Regions from separate parts of the Homo sapiens genome. Here regions 1 and 3 are each linked to region 2. Evidence: promoter capture Hi-C in 16 types of primary human blood cells and fetal thymus (Javierre and others, 2016). All regions are on one chromosome and are shown on one strand. Each heading gives the region's core, a stretch centred on a gene start or on the middle of the fragment in contact. The rest is flanking DNA. Distances are from core to core; before and after follow the strand shown. Region 1 overlaps LOC112268263 (a long non-coding RNA gene). Region 2 holds the start of HOOK1 (hook microtubule tethering protein 1). Region 3 has its middle 5.8 kb from the start of JUN.

Region 1 (4,514 bases), core at 28-2,527, 1.1 Mb after region 2:
TGAAAACATTCGGCCGGGCGCGGTGGCTCACGCCTGTAATCCCAGCACTTTGGGAGGCCGAGGCGGGCGGATCACGAGGTCAGGAGATCGAGACCATCCCAGCTAAAACGGTGAAACCCCGTCTCTACTAAAAATACAAAAAATTAGCCGGGCGTAGTGGCGGGCGCCTGCAGTCCCAGCTACTTGGGAGGCTGAGGCAGGAGAATGGCGTGAACCCGGGAGGCGGAGCTTGCAGTGAGCCGAGATCCCGCCACTGCACTCCAGCCTGGGCGACAGAGCGAGACTCCGTCTCAAAAAAAAAAAAGAAAACATTCATAGAAAATCCATCCTTCTTTTCACATCTCCTGACTGAGACGCAGTTTAGATAATTTGACAGGTGAATGACAGACTCAGCTCTTTTGTAATTGTGAGTTACCGTTAGGATTTGGATATTTGTACTAAAATTTGCCCTTGTAATATCAAGCTTTAAAGGAGGGAGAGACTTCAGAAGTTATTTGGTTGAAATGCCAGTTTTACAGATGATGAAACTTGAGTCCAGGGAAAGAAAGCAATCAGCCAAGTGAGTTGTGGAGCTGAGATCCAAACTCAGGTCTTTGGAGTCAAACCACTTACTCATTGTACCCCTACGATATGCCAGATTTCCCAAACACTTTATCATTGGTTATCTCTAGTAACACCTCAAGAAAGGTGTATTATCTACATTTTACAGGGAAGGAAACTGGGCTCAGAAAGTTGGTATGATTTGTCGCAAGTCCTCCCAGCTAATAATAAGTCCTCCAGTTAACAAAGCTGGAATTGAAGCCCAGATCTGTCTGACTTGGAAGATAGAGCTTCTCCTACAACACTATGGTGGTAAAAGTAAAGGGAGCTTTGTGAAGATCACATTGCTACTGAGTGATGGATTTGAGATAAAAAAAAAAAAAAAGAATGCAAATGCTATCGAGAATTCCAAACTAGAGATTTCATCAGTTCCTGGGCCCCTGTCCTCCATACACAACCAGCATCACTTCCTGAATACCTGGACTAAAACCTTCTCAAACTTTACTATGCATACAAATCATCTGGGATATCTTTTGAAAATGTAGTTTCTGATTGAATAGTTTTTGGGTGGGGCCTGAGATTCTGCAGATTTGGAGATTCTTATGTGAGGCCAATAACCCTAATCCTGGGACAACATGGCTTCCTAAATTGAGATTCAGTTTTCAGCAGCCCCACCCCAAGATTGTCAAGCAGCAAAGTCTGTAAGGTGAGGGAGAGCAGTGTGGTTGTAGTGGGAGGGGACACAATGTTTGTTTAGTTATCATTTATCGAACATCTTCACTATGTGCTGGGCATAATGCTAAGGACTTTACAGGTATAACCACATTTAATCCCCACCAGAACCTTATGAGTAACTATTTGTGTCTACATTTTACAGATGTGGAAGCAGACTCGGAGTTTAGGCCAAATTCACACAGCTCTATCCAATTCCAAAGTTCATGTTCTCAACCACAATGACAACTTTCTCCTCAATGAGATTGTTCCCCTTATACCCACAGCAAGTCTGAATGGCACTTTTGAGGGGGAAGGAGTCTTTGTGCAGACATTGCTAAGCTGATGTGGACAGCACAAACCCAACACCGAAGAATATCTTAGACCAGATGTTGATCAACTTGCTAGAGGAATGTGCCAAAGATTCATTCACACCCAGACAGAAATAAGCGTAAACAGCTTGAGTGAAAACTCAGAAATAACTTGCATACTCAACAATTAAATAATGATTAAATAAAACATAGTATGTTAAGCAATGGGCATAATCAATAGGCAATGGATATACAGATTTCAGGTAGGGTGTTTGCTAGTACAGTATGATCTGATTTTTGTTAGAGAAAAGTTGTGTGTGTTTGCATATAGGAAAAAGATTGAAATTAAGTACTCCAAAAATATCTCAGTAACATTTGGATAAGATTATTACTGTTCATGTTTTTCTTGTATTTTCTTTGTATACTTATCTGTTATTTCTCTTTTTTCCATAGCAGGTTGTATCATTTGTATAATAGCTGAAAGAAATAAAGACATAAAAATGCAACAGAAGCCAGAAAAAAAGCTTTAAAATGGCAGATATTAGCTCAAATTATAAAGCTATAAATATTGTAACAACTGAAATTGGGAAATAGACAATTCAGTGGAAGAGAATAGAAAGTCAAAGACCCATAAGATGTGGATATATAAATAACTTACTTTTTCTCTTGGAGTGGGAAGGCTTTCCTAAAAAATAATACAGAACTATTATGCAGAGGCCCCCAAAAATACTATATATTCAGATGATAGACCATTGACCAACAGGTAAATATTTCTAACCTATAAGACAAATAAATAGGACTAATTTTCTTAATATATAATGTGTTCTTATAACTCAGTAGAAAAATTGGCAAAGAATATGAACATCTGTTCTTGAAGAAAGGAGAAAAAGAGCAAGAGAATGGATCTCAGCCATAGAAGCATTTAGGAGGGAGCAGTGTTTACCTGGCGTCCACCTTTGTTGATAGTGTTTTTGTGTAATTATCAAGGTAGAAATTCAAACCATAGTAGAACAGAAACAATCCCATTCGTCACATCTGACCACGAAGGGATTCATCAGTTGCTTAGTGGGAGAAGAATAGGAAATTCATACCAGAATCCTATTTCACAGTTTATAATTGGTTATATAAAATTAGGCCTAAGCTAACTGCATAACAAAACATACCAGGAGGGGAAATGAAATGGCATCAAGAATGAAAAGGATGCTGACAAAGGGACTTCAATTCCATCTCGTCCTCTAGCTGTGTATCCTTGAATGGCCTTGCTAAACCTTCCTTCTTCATCTATAAAATGGACATCAGAAATCCTATTTATGGTGTTTTTCTGTGAAAAAAAATAAGATGGCATATGTTAAGCAGTTAGTGCTCAACAAATAGTAACTGTATTACATCCCCAGAATTATTATTATTATACTATACACATATATATAGGGCAGGAACAGGGTCAACACTATGAGCCTCCTCCACAGGACTGAGCAGAGAGCAGATCCTCACTGACTACTGCATTGGGACAGACACCACAGCCTTGCTGCGACACAGGTGGAGCATGGTTTTGCAGTCTTGCCAAGTTCAGGACCCTGTACCAGCACTGACTCCCACTTAGGGAACCTCTCAGGATCTTTGTTTCTTCATTTGGGGACAATTTTGGTGATGCAAGCTATAAGGGTTAAATTAAATTAAATCATATTTGGGAAAACACTCTTTGAACTATAAAGCTGTCAGCTTCAGCCCTGCCTTCCCCAGTTTGCAGAACCCACTTATTGAGGCATAGTTCATATCAAAGTTACCTCTTTCATCACCTCAGCCCATCCATCTAGGGGCTTCAAAAATGTTCTCAGACCTGGAATCTTAACTGGGGCCAAACAGTACACAGCCTAGTGCATAATACCAAGATCAAACTGACTGGGACAACTATGGGAAACTCTAGGACATCCCCTAAACTGTCAGCATATCCCACACACATGTTTTCCTTGCCTTCACTGCCAACCAGACCAGGAGCCAATATCCCAGGACCAATCATAGCACCATTTATGGAATGTGTTCTGTGTTCTGAGCCTTATGCTGAGTATTGTACTTGCAATGTTTCAATTAATCCTCACACTAGATCTAAGATAAGTAATCTTATCTCCTTTTTACAGATAGGAAAACTGAGGCTTAAGGAAGGTTAGGACAAAAGTTAAGGAACTAATGGTTCATAAATGATGGGCCAGAGTTTCTATTCCAAGTTTATTTGACTATGATCTTGGGTATTATGATGCCTCTGTAAGAATTATTTTGCAGATGAGTCCCATGAAGGAAACTGACCTACCTGCAATCACATAGCTAGTAAGCACCAAAACTGGGATTATAATCTATGTCTCTTCAAGTCCAAAGACATGCTCTCCCTGTGATACTGTGCTACCTTCCCCAATCCCGTAAGACTAGTTTCTGCCCAAGCGTCCCTTCCCTGAGCTCAGAGCCTGCTGTTGTCCCTAGCCTATTGTTGAATGGCCTGGATCCATGCCTAGCTCTTCTTAGTTTCTTTCCCTGGAATCTGGGTTCCAGATTTTGTCCTTGCTGATGGGACACCTGCTGAGGAAGGACAGATCTTCCCAAAAGATGACAGATCCCTACTTGGTTCCAGAGAATGCAAACAAGAGTTCTCACTTCAGACACATCTACCTTTGAGAATGAGCACCAGACTAACCCATTCCCTTGTTTTCTGTGTTGGATCTGTTAAGCTGCCATGCTCCAAAATGCTGAGTGGGGTCAAGAGGTTGTTCTCCAGCCTGCCTTCTTGCAATTTCATCCTCTTGCTAATTCAGGCATGTTAGAGACCCATAATTCTCATACTCAGGCCTGACCGATAACAAATATCAGCCGTTATTTTTTTTTATGCTTCTTCATTTCCAATTGTAAAAGTTGTATGCTCATTGTTTTATTTCCCATTGCTACGACAAACCCTTCCTCTCTATA
Region 2 (4,817 bases), core at 651-3,150:
GTCATTCAATTTTCTCCACAGTGCTCAGCAGCCCAAGAGAGGACTGAAGAAAACGACCAATTTTACTCTGTTATCTGTGATTCCTTATCATTTGGTTTACAACATATTTGCAGCTTTTACGGAATTTTACCTTCCACTGTAATTACACACAGCTCTGGCTACCACTCCAGTCCTCCCCAGTGCCTAGCTCAACATTGGAAGTCAATAAATTCTGGTTAAAAGAGTGGATACAGTCACATAATATTTTAAAATATTACAACACAAAAGAAAATCCTGTGCTTCTCCACCACCTCACATGTAAATCAATGACATCATAAAGACTAAGCTTAACACTTCAGTCAATTGAGGTTTACAATAATGTAGCAGATTCGGATACACCCTTTAATTAGTCTGTTTTAACAAAACAAATCATTAAAAGTAATGTTGCCTTGTTTCTACGACAGTCTTAAATACAGCACTTCCACCCCAATACCTATTTCAAATGAAAATTCAGCTGAACAGTTAGCTAATTGCTTTTAACTCACAAACCCTAAATATTTGCATTCCACTAAAAGCAAAAGTTATTTACTTACAAAGTGTAAATGCTTTAAATTATGGCTATTTCCAATAGGCTTCACACATTTCCATAAACCTAGATTTCTCATTCTTTGGAATTAGATGCATTAGATCACTAGGGAATCTCAACCGATTACAGCCTCCTGATCCCGTCTGTTTACATTCCATCTGCACACACTCCCCTAGACGCAACTAAACAACTGGTTTGGGATGAGCATCATCAACAGCACCTTGTGGCTCATCAAACACCATCTTTACTCAATATGGGTTAAGAACCACACCTGAATGCCAGCACTGATATCTAAGTAACTCTAAGAGGTGGGATGTCATTTTGCTGACTGGAATATTGAACAATCTGGGGACAGATATGCCTGTCCAGACCCAACACAAATTAACAAAAATCCTAAACACAGATAAATCCTAAAGAAAAATGTCAACTCATTTTCTTTAAAGAAAATGCTGTCCATTTAGAGGAGGAGAGGGCCAGCGAGAAAAAGGGAAAACGACCCCCGACTCCCAACACATCTTTTTCTCCATACGGGAAATACAAACATCTCTTTGAAGCGGCTTCTACAAAATCGGATGTTCTAGAGTCCTGAAGGAGCATTGGTCCGGGAACTAAAACAGCCAGCCACCTCCTGGCCACCTGTGTCCAGGTAGAGCAAGGTAGTTTGAGGATGCAGGGTTAGGTTTCGGAAAGGGTCTTCACGCCCAAGCGGACCAAGGCAAGAGAGTCGGCGATCCAGAAAGTGGAGGGCTCGGGCGCTGTTCAGGGGGAGAAAATGGGGCAGCGGGGAGAAAAGAGGATGGGTGCTTGGTTCATATCCCAGCTGTTAGGGCACCAGGCAGGTCGAATCCTCTGGTTGAGACCAGAGCCTCCACTGTTACGCTCCCAGAGCTTCCTTTACCCCCACCCCCGGACACCAACCCGCGCCCACACACCTGCCCGTCGACCCGCAGGTGGCATTCTCTCGGTCAAGGGCACGAGGTGAGAAGGGCAGGGTGCGCCGGGACCCTGTGCAGGTAGCCCCAGCTCACCTGGGAGAACCGGGCGCCCCAGGCTCCTCGCCTCGGCCCCCTGGCCCCCTCGCCCTCTCGCCTCCTCGCACTCACCCAGATCATGAGGCTGTCGCACAGGGGCAGCTTAGGCTGCGGCGGCGGCTGCGTCTCCTCCATGGCCGGCGCCGCCGTCGACGACGCCGCGGACACCTTCACACTCCCTCCTACCGGCTCTCCTCCAGGAGCCGGCGTCCACGACCTGCTAGCCCCCAGGAAAGCTCGGTACCAGGCCCGACCCGCGCAGCTCACGCGCGAACCCTCGCGCTGTCGACGCGTCCGGCGTCACCCCCTCCTCACCCGCCCCCGCCTCGCTCCAGCGTTCGCCCCCTCCCCTTCCTGGGCCCCGGCCGCGCTGCCAGGCACCTGAGCCCCGCCTTCTCCCACCCCTCCCCTCCTCCCACCCGTCCTGCCCACTCCCGCACACCTCGCCCCGCCGCCCTGAGTGACCTGGCCGCGCACCAGTCACAGAGACGGTAGGTACCCGGGGGGGCGGGCGGGGCGGGGCGGGGGCGGGAAGAACCGGGATAGGTTGCGCAGGGGGGATTGCTGATTGGACGTGCCCTCGTGGGCTCTGGCCAATCAACGTGAGACAAGCCTGAGCCTTGGGTAGAGAGTGAGAGTGGGTGGGAAGAGGTTTATGACCTGGCAGGTGCAGTGAGGGCGGGGGTGGGAGGTTGCGCGCGGGAAGCGAGCGCGCGTGCGCGGCGGGGATTGGTAAGGCTGAAGCTCAGCCCCAGTGGCCGAAGAGGCAGAGGGGCAGCAGGGCACCGGCTGGGCTCAGGCGTCTTCCCTCCTTCTTCGCGGTAGCACGCCGCCTCGCTACACCTGTGGAGGGCCCACACTCTGCTTCCACATTGTCTTCAGAAATAGATCCTACCGGCTGGGCGAGGTGGCTCACGCCTGTAATCCTAGCACTTTGGGAGGCTGAGGCGGGTGGATCACCTGAGGTCAGGAGTTCGAGACCCGCCAGGCCAAGATGGCGAAACCCATTCTCTACTAAAAATACAAAGATTAGCCGGGGGTGGTGGCACATGACTGTAATCCCAGCTACTCAGGAGGCTGAGGCAGAAGAATCGCTTGAACCCGGGAGGCACAGGTTGCAGTGAGCCGAGATCATGCCACTGCACCCCAGCCTGGACAAAAAACCGAGACTCTGTCTCTAAAAAATATATAAAACAAAATAAAGAAAGAAAGAAATAGATCATACCCATGAATTAAAACTCTTCGAGGAAGGAAGAGCTGATTTCCTCCTAGGCACTCATTGGAAAGGGATGTTTTCATTTGCACACGTGGCAAATATGCCACATTAATAAGGAAAATAGAATCCGTCAGTGCTCCTTAAATAAGCTCTCACGGGACCATAGATCATGAGCAATTTTATTTTACATGGGGCAAAAGGGAAGACCGTTTTCAAGTAGCAAAATAAACGAAATGTTTTGAAAAACATGGAAGATATTAATGTATCCATTTTCCTTTGTCAGTTGAAAATTTGCTTTTTCCGAGAATGTTGTGGGGTGGAGGGGGGTCGGGGGAGGTGACCTGAAATTGGAAGCTCTCCAAGGTATTGATAGATGGCTTAGGTGATTGAAAAGGGCTAGACTATTCTTAGTCTTGCTGTCACTTCACTCATTCATAAACTCATCAATTCATGCTCTGAGTAAGAAAACAGCTGGCTTTTTTTTATATTGCTGCGTTTTTATATTTAGACACTGAAAATTTAAAACTGATGGACGACTGCAATTAAAAGCCCCCAAGTGTAAATCAGTCTCATTCTAAAAATACAGTATGTACGTTTGCTATTGACTCCCTTAACATTATTCCAGAACTTTCTTAACGCCTCTGGAGTCACTTTATATGCTGGAACTAGGTACATTGGTAATGTGATTTAATTAAAACTACAAGATTTAGGAATTGAAGACCTGGTCTGAATCTTGACTTTATTCCCCACTGGCTGCTCTCCTATAGCCCCCAACCTCCACATTCCTAAGATCATTGTAATTAAAATGTAAACATACATGGTAAATGTAAATTATAAACTTTGTAAATATGAGTTACTATTATCATCTATACATATGGGAAACTTCTCAACATATTTATCACTGAGAGCCACAAGTGACCAAATTTCTCAAATAAAATAATTCGTGAGAGTAACTTGGTGGGGGGGGCAATTAAGTTATGCTTCTGGACTTTATAGAGAGTAAATTATCAGGGAAGGAAAAATTTAACAATTTTTATCAAGAAACTTTAAAATATCCATATCATTTAAACCCATGATTCCAATTTATTCTGCGTCAGTCATAAATTCTGTTGAAATCATCAGAAGTGCATTTGGAGGCTTTGAACAATGATATGTATGGCAATGCTATGTATTGATCAATTGTATAATCGATTGATACAATGCCCAATAAGCAAGGAAGGCTAAATATTTTACAGCAGATTCAGTGCTCTGGAGAATATTTGATAACTCAGGAAAGTTGTCACAATGTATACTATTAAATAAAATTTAGATGAAAGTATCAGCCATATGACCTCAATATTATAAATATTAGGTATGTATTTTAATATATACACAGGAAGAAGACAAAGGAATAATCATAAAACTGTTGTTATATTTATATACAAATGAAAAATGACTATTTTTCTAATCTTCCATATTTTCTAGGCTTTCTACAATTAGCTTATATTACTTTATAATCAGAAAAAAAGACTTTAGAAGAAATGCCAAATACAACATAAGTTATCATTTCCAACTATTAAATTGGCATCAGTTCTTTAGAAGTTGGCATCCATGTTTGGGGAGTTGAGTGAAACTAACTCTTAAACCCTAGCTGTGGGATTATAAATGGGTACAAAGTTTTTTGACAATATATATCAAGAGCCTTTAAAATGTTCAAAGTCTTTAAGCCAGTAAGTTCACTTTCAGAATCTATTCTAAGAAAATAATCATATGCCAACAAAGTTGTTGATTGCAGTACTATTTATCAAGCAAAAAGGAAAAGAAACAGCTATTAAATGTCTGAAAGAGAAGTGATTAAACACAGTAAGTTATATTTAAACAATGAAATGTATCATAGGCATTAAAATATTTTAAAATAAGTTTATTCAGGAAAATGCTTATCACATAATGTTAAGAAAAAAAGCCATTATGCAATCTGTGCATACAGCATAGATCCCAACATATACATAAATATATGGGCCAGGTG
Region 3 (5,009 bases), core at 218-2,717, 1.0 Mb after region 2:
TTTTATTTTTAGTTGCTGAGGTTAACATTGCTGCAATCTGAAGTGATTTGAAAATTAAGAAGCAAAGAATTTAGGAAGAGTCAAACTAGAAGTTGTGATCTGAATGAAACAGTCTCCCAATTTCATTAATTCTTTCCCTCTTTCTCCATCTCTATCTCTCTCTCTACTACCTCACCCCCAAATAAACCCCTATGCCTATGGAAACTAACAGTTTAGCATTTTGGGTCTGTCTGTAGCTTATTTCTTAATTTGTTTCTAAAATAATCAACCTTGTTTAAATATAGAATAAGTCTCAAAAGATAGTAATCTAATACTATGGAAAAGATTCACAAGAGAAAACATGAACTAGTACTAACTCAATGATTACATGCGTAAATCAAACCTCAGCTCTGGGGAAATGGGAAACTTGAATTCTACCTACAGATATAACTTAGGAGATCAACAAGGCAGTGCTTAACAAGGGAACAATTTTTTGCTTGGTTGCTTTTCATACCAAGAGCCAGTGTGATTATCAGGCAGCAAAAGCAATTTGATATCCAGGAATATTTCACAAACCACTAATTGAGTCAGGGCTGTTTGCTCATTAGCAGTGTTCTAGTACCCAGTAGGTCTGGGAGTGCTAATATCCTGCCTGTGGCTGTAAATCCAAATACACAAAGAGTTTCTCCTTAGGAGTATATCTAGGAGTGGAAGAGATTGGACAGGCTTGTTAGCTTCGGATCCTTTGTAATAACACTTCTTGAACAAAGGGTTACTGGGAGCAGAGCCCAGTTTGCCAAACTGAATTTGCCGATGTCAGCAACCCGGAAGGTGAGATGATTTTGACCATATGTAGAAATAGCAGAGGGACAATAAAGCATTTTGGGGTGGGGCTCTGTGGAAGCTAAACAAGAGCCAACTAGAAAAAATAAGCAGGCTGGGGAATTAATTACCTGCAAAGGTAGACTAAGCCCAGACAACAGTACAGCACAGAAAAGCCACACCACTCCCCAGTTTGCTTTAGATTTCAGTGTTAAAAAAAAAAAAAGTCTGAAACTCAGGCCTATCCCCATGCTTGATTGTTTCAATTAACATTCTAAATGTATATTCTTGAAATTCTAACCATTCTAACCAAAAGGGGTAGAAAAAAGTAATTGTGGTAGAGGAAATTAACCCATGATCTCTGGTAAATTTTGGAGACAAAAGATTAACTGCTTATAAACACTTAATGGTTAAGCTTATTATGGGCCTTCAATGAGTTAATCTTTGAATTAAGGTAACACTAATAGTTGGAGAAGATGAAGCTGGTGACACATCGTCATTAATCCTCTTAATTTTTTTTACACATATATATATGTTACATATATAAAATAATTCAATCAAGGACATTTAACCCTCTCTGTCTATCAAGACAGAGGGTTCATGAACTCAGTGAAAATGCCCAGAAAGTTGTGTTTGTGTGTCTGTACACACTCTTCTGAGGAGAGAAATTTTTGCTTTTATTCGACCCTCCCAGAGTTCCATGACTCAAAAAAAAGGGTTAATAAACCATGAACTGACCAGCTACATGCCCACTATCAGAAACATATCATTGTATGGATCTAAATCCCATGCTCTTTCACCCCTTCATGTTTCTGCTTGCATGTATTTGCCTGGAATACCTTTCCTTCTAGTTCAACTGATAAATCCTACCCATTCTTCAAGTCTTGGCGTAAGTGACACCTTCTCTGTAAAGCTTCCCTTAGTAACTCCATCTTCAAAAGGAATGAATAATTCCCTAATGAGCATGATAACATTTTATCAAAAATCCTATGATAGCACATACAAAAATGTATTATGAACCTCTGTGTCTCCTGGTCAGAACCCTATCTTCTTCATCAATGGACTCCCAAACTTTTAATGTAGCGCCTGGCATATAGTAGATGTTCATAAAATAAATGTTTGATGACTGAACGAACAAGTGAGCTCAAACCCTCCTCCAACATAATTCCAAGTCTTAGTTTCTTCTAGTAAATATACTTCATTCATTTCCAGGTGCATAACTCGTGATGGATCAACCCTCAAAGTCAACCTGGCCAACCCTCAAGTTCTAAAGCCCAGTACTTAGTGAGTGTTCTTAAAAGAATTAAGCTGTTAGCACATTCATACATCCAGCCACACACAGTGTCCCTTCCTGCCTCCACTAATGCAGGTGAGCATCTTCTTACATTAAATGGGTCTGCCTGAAACATTAGTTTTGAAGGTGGAAATGGAGCCTATGTGTGTCCTTGGGCAGGCACAAAAACAGTTCCAGATGTGTCTTCATTTAAAACAACCAGCTTTATTGGTAATGAGAGAGGGGACTTTCTGTTAGTAAAATTAGACATATTTCAGGGGTCCAGAAGTTAGTACCCAATGTTTGCTTGCTGAGACAGGAATCATGCTAATCCATCTATTCCTCCATGTCATTTCATTACTAGAGAAGTGCATTCATGAACCAAGGAAAGAGGCCATGACTTCTGGTTTGATTGTCCCTTGCCTCCTCCACCCACCTCTATGGTGGTCAAGTAGGATCTCATAGAAGAGGGGAAGAGGGTTAGCAGCTGGGATGGCCCCAGAATGTAAAACTATTCTTTCCTAACTCTGGAACCTAACTTGAGTTGTTTGGTTTTGGACTTTTGAACATCATAAAGCAGGGCATTCCTCTGGTCCTGAGTCTCTTTGAGGCCCTCTGCTTGTCTGTGGGGATTCAATGATGAGCAAAATATAATCCCTATTCTCAAGGAACTCACATTCTGGTAGAGTGGAATGTGGAGATGAAATAGAAACTATTCTAAAGGCACAAGATATATGCTATAAGAAAAAGGTGCCAGATGGGAGCAGAAGGAGACATTATTAGAAAATGCTTTATGGGAGAGGTGACATTTGAGCTGATCCAGTGGGCCTTACCAGGCAGAAAAGATTGGAAAGAAACGTGCATGCAAAGGCAGAGAAGTATGAGAAAACGTCTTGTGTTTAGGGACCTGAAGGCTGCTTAGAGAAGCTCGGAAGAAAGATACGAGAAGAAAACTGAAGGGAGAAGAGGCAGGGAAGTTGAAGGCTTGGGTTGAGATTTAATATCCATTCCATGTTATCCTATAGGTGACGGAGAAAGCAGGTGAATTTGAAACAGAGTGGGGACATAATACCCTCAGCTTAAGAATGATTCATGCTGGCAACAGTTTGGAGGATGGATTGGTGAAGAAGAAGCTAGGTAAGGGGTGAAATACCAAAGATAGGTTTTCAGTTTTATTTAGAATGCCTGTGGTATTTAAAGTAGTCTTACAGTTGGGGGACAAATGGGAAGAAGATGGCTTGGTCCAGGCTACATCATGCCACCTTTCTTCTTATGTAACTTTCTGATGAGTTAGGCCTAAAGAGGGATACCAGGAGGTTTGCTTTCCTCTTATGCTACCTGCTCCATGCTTACATTTTCCTCTCCATTGGGTCCATTTGATACCTGAAAGAAAATCTTCTCACAAAATGGTCTAGAGCCCACCTGTTCAGAGTCAGGAAGCTCAAATAAACAGATGTGAATGAAACAGACCTGCACCCGTGTAGGCCAGGCCTTCCAGGGTTATAGCACAGAACTGGTCTTCACTGCTGCAAGACCAAACCTGACTTTATCTGGTCACCTAGAATTGATTAAGCTCAATGAGGCTAGTTGACCCAAACTTTATAAACTCTTTGATGTATAAACAAATTATGTTGAGGGAACTGATAATAACATTTTACATTCCCATAGCACTCATTTTCTACCACAAGTAATATTGAAATCCTATTTTGTGCCAGAAACCAGGAACACAGAAGAGTGAAAGCAACAGGATGCCTTCCCTCATGGAGTTTCTCATCTAGCTAAAAGGAACAGTAAATAAACACACAAGGCCAGGCATGGTGGCTCACACCTGTAATCCCAGCACTTTGGGAGGCTAAGGCAGGCATATTACTTCAGGTCAGTAGTTCGAGACCAGCCTGGCCAACATGGTGAAACCCTGTCTCTCTGCTGAAAATACAAAAATTCGCTGGGCATGGTGGTGGGTGCCTGTAATCCCAGCTACCCAGGAGGCTGAGGCAGGAGAATCACTTGAACCCAGGAGGCGGAAGTTGCAGTGAGCTGAGATGGCGCCACTGCACTCCAGCCTGGGCGACAGAGAGAGATTCCGTGAAGAAAGAAAGAAAGAGAGAGAGAAAGAGAGGGAGGGAGGGAGGGAGGAAGGAAAAGAAACACACAAATAAATATATGATTAAAGTGCAATGAAGAAAAAGAACTGGGCACTAATAAAGAGAAGATCTAAATTGGGTTGGCAACAAAGTATTTCTGGAGAACTACTTGAGCTGAGAAATCTTAGACTAAGAGTTCCCCATGTGAAGAGCAGATGAATAGGAGTGAGACATCCCAGGTGAAGAATCAGCATGAAGGAGAGCCTGGGAAAGACTCTGGTGCACCCTAGTAGTTATGAGAAGGCCTGAATCCCTGGAGCATACTAAGCAAAAGAAAGAGTGATGAGCAATGACATTTGTACTCACCCATCCATACTCTTGTAGTTTCCAAAGCTCTTTTGCCTCTTCTGTCTCATGTTATTTTCACCACTGTTCTCGGGATGCCCATTGATAGTAGTCATGTTTCATGGGAGCAGAAGCTGAGGCTCCCAGTGAGTTTTAAGTGCTTTTGTTGAGGCCATGGCTCCAGTAACTGGTGGGGCACAATTTGGTCCCCAGGCATCAAGAACCATATTTTTCACCTATATTGTTCCAAGAAACAGAAATCCTGGTGACCTTGGGTCTCTTACTCAGTGCACACCCCTACGTCTACATCAAGGACCCTGAGGACTGAATTAGTTATCAGAAGGTTCTTTGATGTGCACAGCATCTGAGCAAAGGTAATCAGATAGTCTCCTGGGATATTTTGTCCATGCCGCAGCAATGTCTAATGAACTCTCCTTGCCTCTCTGCAAACTCCCCCTCTCTGGAGAGAACGAACACTTCTGTGCTGAGAAGCCCTGAGAGTTTCT

Evidence for each region. Contacts are between HindIII fragments. The CHiCAGO score rates a contact against its expected background, and 5 or more counts as called.
Region 1: a fragment that was not itself captured here is called in contact with the fragment with the promoter of HOOK1 in region 2 in 7 of 17 cell types (naive CD4 T cells, naive CD8 T cells, non-activated CD4 T cells and 4 more); the score reaches 9.9 in naive CD4 T cells.
Region 3: a fragment that was not itself captured here is called in contact with the fragment with the promoter of HOOK1 in region 2 in 9 of 17 cell types (naive CD4 T cells, non-activated CD4 T cells, total CD4 T cells and 6 more); the score reaches 14.7 in naive CD4 T cells.

Annotation. Positions count from the first base shown.
Region 1 is chr1:58,756,012-58,760,525 of GRCh38, reverse strand. It overlaps LOC112268263 (a long non-coding RNA gene), which reads right to left. Exons shown (of 9, transcript XR_007066129.1): 7 at 2,726-2,883; 8 at 2,221-2,247; 9 at 329-2,039. Among named protein-coding and RNA genes, the nearest start is that of JUN, 26 kb to the left of the region's middle. RefSeq lists an enhancer at 4,325-4,514. The HindIII fragment of the contact is 1,623 bases long and covers 466-2,088 here.
Region 2 is chr1:59,812,032-59,816,848 of GRCh38, reverse strand. HOOK1 (hook microtubule tethering protein 1) reads right to left here and starts at 1,900. Exons shown (of 22, transcript NM_015888.6): 1 at 1,669-1,900. The coding sequence starts at 1,731. LOC105378758 (a long non-coding RNA gene) reads left to right here and starts at 1,983. Exons shown (of 5, transcript XR_947426.3): 1 at 1,983-2,087. RefSeq lists an enhancer at 1,033-1,596 and a silencer at 1,833-2,432. The HindIII fragment of the contact is 6,303 bases long and covers 328-4,817 here.
Region 3 is chr1:58,775,722-58,780,730 of GRCh38, reverse strand. No RefSeq gene overlaps it. Among named protein-coding and RNA genes, the nearest start is that of JUN, 5.8 kb to the left of the region's middle. The HindIII fragment of the contact is 498 bases long and covers 1,219-1,716 here.